Linked DNA regions of Homo sapiens: region 1 is linked to region 2. The links are contacts of gene promoters, found by promoter capture Hi-C in blood cells and fetal thymus (Javierre and others, 2016). All regions are on one chromosome and are shown on one strand. The core of a region is centred on a gene start or on the middle of the fragment in contact, and the rest is flanking DNA. Distances in the headings are between cores, read along the strand shown.

Evidence for each region. Contacts are between HindIII fragments. The CHiCAGO score rates a contact against its expected background, and 5 or more counts as called.
Region 1: the fragment with the promoter of CHIC2 here is called in contact with the fragment with the promoter of GUF1 in region 2 in 1 of 17 cell types (total CD4 T cells); the score reaches 9.4 in total CD4 T cells.

What each region holds. Positions count from the first base shown.
Region 1 is chr4:54,062,123-54,066,237 of GRCh38, reverse strand. CHIC2 (cysteine rich hydrophobic domain 2) reads left to right here and starts at 1,633. Exons shown (of 6, transcript NM_012110.4): 1 at 1,633-2,056. The coding sequence starts at 1,938. RefSeq lists silencers at 1,326-1,565, 1,796-1,925 and an enhancer at 1,725-2,225. The HindIII fragment of the contact is 3,181 bases long and covers 1-2,809 here.
Region 2 is chr4:44,676,578-44,680,524 of GRCh38, reverse strand. It overlaps GUF1 (GTP binding elongation factor GUF1), which reads right to left and starts at 2,105. Exons shown (of 17, transcript NM_021927.3): 1 at 1,738-2,105; 2 at 1-84. The coding sequence starts at 1,902. RefSeq lists a silencer at 1,767-1,926 and an enhancer at 1,998-2,886. The HindIII fragment of the contact is 9,672 bases long and covers 1-3,947 here.

The DNA.
Region 1 (4,115 bases), core at 384-2,883, 9.4 Mb before region 2:
GGAAGTTAAGTGGCTTGTCTAGGGTCACACAGTAAGTGGCAGAGCTGACATTCAAGGCCAGGTAGTCAGGTTCCAGAACACACATTGTTAAACACCAGACCAAGCTGCCTCCTGTGTGCCCCACTGACACTTCCTGTGTCCTCCTCCATGAGCCCCTGGCAGAGATGACAATTGCTTGCCTTAACAATAGATAAGCTACCAGAAGTCAGGGCCTGTGCCTCATTCACACACGTCCACAGTGCCTGCCACATAGCTAGAGTTCAGTAGATATTTGTTGAATGAACAAATACCCTCCAGGGAGGGATACAATAAGTCTGATACAACTACTGTATTTTTCCTTCATTTTTTCTTGGCTAACCACACTCATTTCCTTCAGTTGTTTCCAAAAGGAGGTTGGCATCTCTCACTGTCCTCATTGACCTCCTTTGCACTTTCTCCACGTCAACAGTGACCCATCTAAAGCCGACTACTGTGACATGAACACTGCACTTGAAGAGCCTGACCAGCGCTGGGCTCAGTAGAACTATCCTTTCTTCTCCCATGGTGTATCCTCACTGTCCAGGACTCTCTTCTCAGAAGCCCACTCCTTCCCCTGTGCTGTTTATATGCTTAATGAAACCAAGTACCCAAAGTGACCGTTCAACTGTTACTAGGCAGCTAAGTAGACTCCATTAAACCTTTTCCTTCCTTCCTCCCCTTCTTTCTTTCTCTCCCATTCTTCTTTCATTCTTCTCGTCCTTCCTTCTATCCTTTCTTCCTTCCTGCCTCCTTTTCTTCCTCTCCTCTGCCCTTTCTTTCAGGTCTTTTTTGTGGTAGGAACTGGTAAGAAAAGGAAAGGAATTCCCTAAGATTTTAAGGAAACAACAACAAAAACCAGGTTATGTTTGGTGAGAGAGTTGGGGCAAGAAACTGCATCTTCTAATATGGAATCCAGGTAATTTATCAGTTTTTTTTCATAGCATGACTACGGTGAGATTTCTTGTAAGAAAAAAAAAAAAATACCAGCATCGCTGGCCTCATATATTGGATTATACTTAAGGGGATCAAGGGATAAGATGTTTGAATTTGGAGATGTCTTGAAAAATCCTGTGGTGAGCACAAATGTTTGCAGTGTCTCTGCTGGACTCCTCAAATTGGGAAAAAAGAGACTCTGGTTCTCATCATAGACTCAAAACCTGAGGAAAAGCGAGATGCGATTATTAGATAAACTGGCAATGACACGCACAAAAATGTGTCTATTCCAGCCAGGGCTTTTCTTTTCAGTTGTTTGTTTTGGTTAGAGATGACTTTGGGGAACTGCATGTCCCACTGGACATTCCAAGCTGCGTTGTCGGAGTCGCGGGTCGCGGCCTCCAGTCAGCGGAGCCGCCGCCCCCAGGGTCCGCCACCCAGAAGTCGGCGGAGGGGGGCCCGCCGGCGGGAGCGCGCGCCCCGGTCGCCGTCTGCGGGTAGAAGCAGAGGAAAGACGGTGGCCTGGGAGCGCGCGAGGCCGCACGTGCGCGCGCCCGCCCGCCCGCCAGCCAGTCCGCTCGCCCACGCGCCCACGCACGCGCCCGCCCGCCCGTTGGCCCGGGAAGTCTCGCGATGCCGTAGCCGGCTGCTCCCGCTGCGGGTGGCTCGGGCTGTTGCTGTGGTTTCCTGAGTTGCTGCTGCTGCGGCGGCGGCAGCGGCGTCTGTGCTTGTGGAGGTGTCGGCCTCTGGGCGGATGTTGACATTGTGTTGTTGTTATTGCTGATGGTAATGGCGGCGGCGGTGGCGGCGACGGTCCAGACCCCATCCCCTCTGTAGCCGGAGCCGAGACAGCCGACAGCGAACTCCGCGGCCTCGGAGCCGGCGGCAGCGGCGACTCCCCTCAGCCTCCGCCGCCTCGCCCGCCGGTACCCCGGCGCCAACCCCGGGAGTCAGGCCCTTTGGGCAGGGGAGCTCGGAGGCTCAGGATGGCGGATTTCGACGAAATCTATGAGGAAGAGGAGGACGAGGAGCGGGCCCTGGAGGAGCAGCTGCTCAAGTACTCGCCGGACCCGGTGGTCGTCCGCGGCTCCGGTCACGTCACCGTGTAAGGCCCGGAGGAGGGCGAGGGCGGGAGGTGCGGGCTGGGGTGGGCCCCGTTACTCCACGGGAGCCCCGTTTCCCCTGTGTCCGTCTGGTGTCGGGGGCCTTCCGAAAGAGTAGGCAACCAGGAAGTGAGAACTTGGCTTATTTTCATTTGTTTGGGTCTCCGAAGTGGGGACGGACGCTGTCCTTCCTCCTCCACACACCCCTTTAGCAGGCCCTACAGGCCCGGGCGATGTGACGATCCCAGTAGGCACGGGTTTTCATTAGGGTCTGCCCTGCGGGCCACCCTTCCTCTTCAGGGTGGAAGTACGTGTATTGACAGGGAGCCTCCTTGTTTTCTCGCCCAGTTACCCTGTGGTTGTCTGTGCCTTTGCACCCAGTGACATGGCTCAGAGGCCAGATCTGGGCCGTGTGAGACCCCAGTGACAATTGGCAGCGAAGCTCCGTTTCGTGTCTATTTCACACATACCCACAGGTCTCCCAGTTTTTCCACTAATTTCCGCAGAACTAATGCAAGTTCTTGTAATTGTACGTGATAAAAATATATAGTTGAACACAAATTTAAGATATACAGAAAGAAATATGTTTACAACAACAACAACAACAACTACGTGAGGGACATACACTCTGCTCAGGTTACTGAGGGAAAATTGTAGTCCTGAAGCTCCTCCTTGGGGCACGAACTTGGGGCTTGTTAATTTGGAAAGTCCCACTAGTAACATTAAAAGTCTGATATTAATAAGGAATGAAAGCTTTCGGAAAGACCATGACAAAGGAATGTGAAGCCTTGAACCAAATAATGAGCTGTCCGGAAGCAGGAAGTTTTGTAATGTTTCACTATGAAGTCCACAGTTTTGTACCACTTGATGTATTACATTGATACTCTCTCATTTTAGATCTCTTGTTCAAATAATAGATCAGACTTCCATACTTGTCAGGTATCTCTGTACTTCTTCACCTTTTCAGTGAAACAAAAGAGCCAGCAAGTCTGAGAATGTCTGGAATAGTCTTCATTATATTTTGGTGAAGAGTGAGTGGGATGTGCTGTGAATAACTTAGGGAAACAGTAAGACTTCTCATATAAGTTTGTCAGCAAAATAATTGCATTTCTCGTATGACCAGCCATATTGTTGTTTGAGTATGCTTATGTAATGCTTTAATTTCTTTAGTACCTGTTAGTTTATGTTCAGGTGACTTAACAGGGTAAAAACACTGCATAATTGCCATCACAGCACCATGACAAGACAGTGGAATTTAATTCACCACAATAATACTTTCTAAGTGTTGTCACCAGCTTAAGAAGTATAACCAAATATCATGGATATTAAACTTTTAACATATATCACAGAATTCATAACCTGCCATTTGATTTTATTTTGACTTTTAGGACCTTTTTGCACTGTTTTAAGCCTAAGGAGTATGTGGATGCTTAAAGAAGTGATTTCCAAACTTTGTCATGCCATCTATCCCTCCTTCTACATTCCTCATGTCAAAGAAAAGCTAGAGAATTTTGTCATTTAAAAAGGCGACGCTGTAGTTGTAATGTTTCCTCTGTTAAGGAGAAGAAAAGCTAAGCACTTTGTTGGGCAAGTGGAAAATGCAATAGTGGGCAAAGTGCTCAGAACCTAGGTAATCAGTAAACTTGATTGTAGTTGGCTACGTGGAGAGGTTAATAGGGTAGAAAATAATTATTAGTGGTTTTCAAACTTAGCTGTCCATTAGAATCCTGGGTGTCTTTAAAAAAAGACCATTGTCTTTGCTCCACCCCAGGCCAGTTGAAGGCCAAATACTAAGTGAGGGTCCTAGGAGTGGACAGTTAAAATAATAAATAAATAAATAAATAAATAAATAAAATCTCACAGGTGATTCTAATGTGTAGCCAAGATTGAAAACTATTCCAGGTTATAGGGAGGGACTATCTATCATCAATAAACAGTATGCCTTTCTACATTGTGAGTTAAATCTCTGATTTTCCTCAGCAACTTCCTTCTTCTCCCATTTATCTTGGTTCTAGGCTCTGGGTTAAAATCTATCTCAGCTACTTCCTGGATAAATTGTTT
Region 2 (3,947 bases), core at 856-3,355:
AGTACTTTTGCCATGATCCACGTGTGCAACAATACTGAAATTTCTAATATTTTCAACAGGAAACCTAGACATGTCAAGTTTTTCCTAGAAAGGGGAAATACCACATTTAGGAGTATAAATTTGGCATACTATCAAACAAGTATACCAATTCAAAGAATATTCTTTTAATCGTTGAACAATATCATTTCTAGCATTTATATTGTTTATATTATTATTCTAAGAAAAAGACATGTATGGCTAAGTTCATATTACAAGGAACATCAGTTTAATAGCCAAAGGTAACTATACAGCTAAATCATAATCCCTTAACATTTCTACACAATTTTTAGGGCCAATCAGGAACTGAATTTATTATCGTGAATGGAGAACATGAGACACCTAGAACTTCTAAAGGCCTGAGAATACCTTGTCTAGTAAAACTTTTGAGGCAATGGAGCTACAGAAAAGCTGAAAGAAGATAAATTTTCTGCTCCTATCACACATTTAATCAGGAATCAGATTTATTTAAAAATCTGTGTCTCTAATGGAGCCTCAAAATTTTATTTTAAATACAATTTTGCTACTTTGCAGCTTCTCTGGTGAGAAAGAAAAAAAGATGACATCCAACAAAAGACTTATCACTTAAAACTTAAAAATATTTTAAAATGGAACTCCTGGTTTTTCGTGTACACATCTTCTTTAACGTTTTACTGAAACACATCACAAATTGCTAGAAATTGTTATCAAGCAAAATATACCAGTTTTTTGTACTCTATTTTTTTCCAATCAACTGCATATTTCACAATCAGCAAAACCATGAAATTACAATGAAATATAAAATTCACGTGAGCTTTGTTTTTTAATAGCCCCATAAAGACAGATAATAAAAGCACAATTATAGCTGAAAGTCTGCCGAAAAAAAACTAATTCTGATGTTTGCCCTGTAGATTTTCTTTCCCTTCAGTTCAAAAGGTATAGAGAATTGCACCATCTTTATACTTCGAATTGCAATATAAATCCATTTTTAAAAACACAGGCATATTAGGGCCAAAGTTGATTAATTTAAGGTTTTGTCTTTCTGCCTACTTATAGCTTGCCTTCAGTCACTTCACTTTTCTGACTAAAATGTATCCATTCACAATTATCAGAGTTGTTGAACCTCCCACCCTCTCCCACCAGAGTCAAAATTACACAGGTTTGCTCTGGCTGAGGTAGAATGAAATAAAACTACAAAGACAGACCGAGAACTTCCTGCATTCTAGGTATTAGTCTAAAAAAGTCCACTTCTCACATCACACAAATCTCACAAATTAGCCACTGGATGTTTGATCAGTTCTGCATTCAACAAATGAAGTAGGAGAGTGACAATGTAGTAACTTGCCCAGGCCACATAGCTACTTAATTTGCAGGAAAATGGACGTTATATTAATATTTACTAGCAACTTGCTTAGTAGGCTTTTTAGAATTAAATAGATGAATAAACGCAAAGCACTTCGACCAGTGGCTCGCGTAAACAAATCAACATTTGACATTGAAAATGAGAAAACCTACAAAGTTAGTGACTTGCCCAAGGTCACACTAGTGAGGAGTGGAGGGTCGGGAACCTGAGCAGTGCTCACACTCTCCGCTCTGCCTCCCTGTACCAAGTTGCAAGCAGGGTTCAGAGCTAGTCCCAGAAAGCCCTATACATGTCCAAGATCGCATGGGGCACTCCAACGTTTGAAAACTTGGCTAAATCAGATTCCAGGGGGCAGTCACCTTGAATTCTGCGGAGCTGTAGAGCCTGTCGGTAGCCCAGGACTCTGGAGCAGCCCCAAGGGTCGGCGCGGACCGGGGCCCCGGGGCCACCAGAAGCGCGGCCCCAGTGGCTCGTGGCGCGAGAGCGCGTGCGCACCCCCAGCCCCGACCCACGAGGGTCCACATGACCCGGGCGGCGGAGGCGTCAGGAGAGGGTACCCACACGCAACAGCAGCATAGCCCGTTTTTTTTCGAAGGTACCCCCCGTAGGATCCGGTGGACAGGACTCAAACAGATCCTGTGAAGCGAAGACAATGAACCCCGGGGAGCTCTGCCCAAGTACCAGATCCGGAAGCAACCCGAAGCGGCGGCGCAGCTTGCCGACGTCTGCACGCCGCACGCTGTCGTGACATCAGCGCGTCTTGGCGCCGGGTAGTGGAGTGGTCACGTGAGTGGAGGCTTTCGATTGACTCCCTAAAACGCAGGGTGTAGACAGAGTACATATTAGCTTATATTGTCTGCTGAGTGCTGTGCCAATTCCTTTGCATTGTCTCTTTCTTACTACTGCCCTGTGGTGTGTGTACTGTCAGTTCCCCCAAACTACCTCTGGAAATCCGGACCGAGTGACTTGCCCAGGAGCTCACAGGTGGGGAGCTGTGGAGCCTGGAGTGCCGCCCAGGCAGTCTGATTCCCGAACCAGGAGCCGAGGTCTTAGTCCAGGGACTTAAAGATGCTATTATTAGCACAACGTTGAGACTTAGCCTTCTACCTAATGGCAAAATAATAATGGCACTTTTAAAATCTGGAGGTCGAAATGTATTCCCCATGTTGTCAGTGACAGAGCTAATCTTGAAGTGCATCTGAAAGGAAACGGGCCATAACATTGATTGCAATACTGAATCCAGGAAGGTTTTGGCAAGAAGTAAAGGTGGGAAAAAGTTCCATGCTGGACCCCCAATGTTTCCATCGTCATCAAGTTACCACTTCATGGAATGAGCTCTGACGAAGTAAGAATGGGGGATAAAACAGGTGATAGGAGGATTGCATCCAGTGTTTGTCTCCCACTATTTCTCTTGCGCTTTTCTGGAATATCCAGAATTTGGTGCGAAGGAGGGAGATGACAGCTGTGTTCAGTTCATCATTGTGACTGAAGACAGAATCATTCGTATTGTTTCCAGAGCCTTTGAAAGTTTCTTCATTTGGAGGATTTCTTAGGATCAAGAATTCTGTACCAGACTCAGTTCTTTCTTGGATTTTTTTTTCCCCCCTGAGATGGTGTCTCGCTCTGTCGCCCAGGCTGGAGTACAGTAGCGCTATCTCGGCTCACTGCAACCTCCGCCTCCTGGGCTCAAGCGATTCTCCTGCCTCAGTCTCCTGAGTAGCTGGGATTACAGGCGCGCGCCAGCAATCATGGCTAATTTTTGTATTTTTAGTAGAGACGGGGTTTCACCATGTTGGTCACGCTGATCTCGAACTCCTGACCTCGTGATCTGCCCACCTCGGCCTCCCAAAGTGTTGCGATTACAGGCGTGAGCCACCGCGCCTGGCCCTTTCTTGGAACTTTTATGAATTAAAACAGTACTTGATAGACGACTAATTCTGTCACACTTGTAAGAGAATGAATTTAACAACTATCTTGAAGTAAACACAATAATTTATATTCAATGTTGCCCAGACTTCCATAATTTGCACAATTACCCTCATTAATTTTCACCATATCCTGTCAAAGATAAAGGCAGACACCAGTTAAAGTGGTGAAGACAGATTTTTATTATAGTGATATACTAATGCAATCGGGAATAAGATCCAGAATGAACTAAACTACAATTTGTCCAGAGGCGACTGTATTTTAAAAGGAGAATGCGGGAGTAGGGAAAGAGAACAACTGGGCTTGATCAAAGTCAGGGAAACGGAAATTTACAAAAAACAATGGCGGAAGAATGGTCCATTTGAAATCCATCTGGGTTGTAAACTGTTGCTTATGGAAATAAGGCTCCTACCCTTCCCGCAGACACTAGGAAATGAGTGCTACTTTCACATGTTGGCTGGAACAAATAAATTATTTTGTCAGTCTTGAGCTTTCTCAGACAGAAATTTAAGGGGGCTTCATCTTAGAGATGCAGCCTTGAGCTGTTATAAACTATATGAGTTTGTTCAAGTCTTTTAATGTGTGGGCAAACCGGTAGGGGAAGGATGTGGATGAAATCATTTGTGCTGAGGGTCTGTAGTTT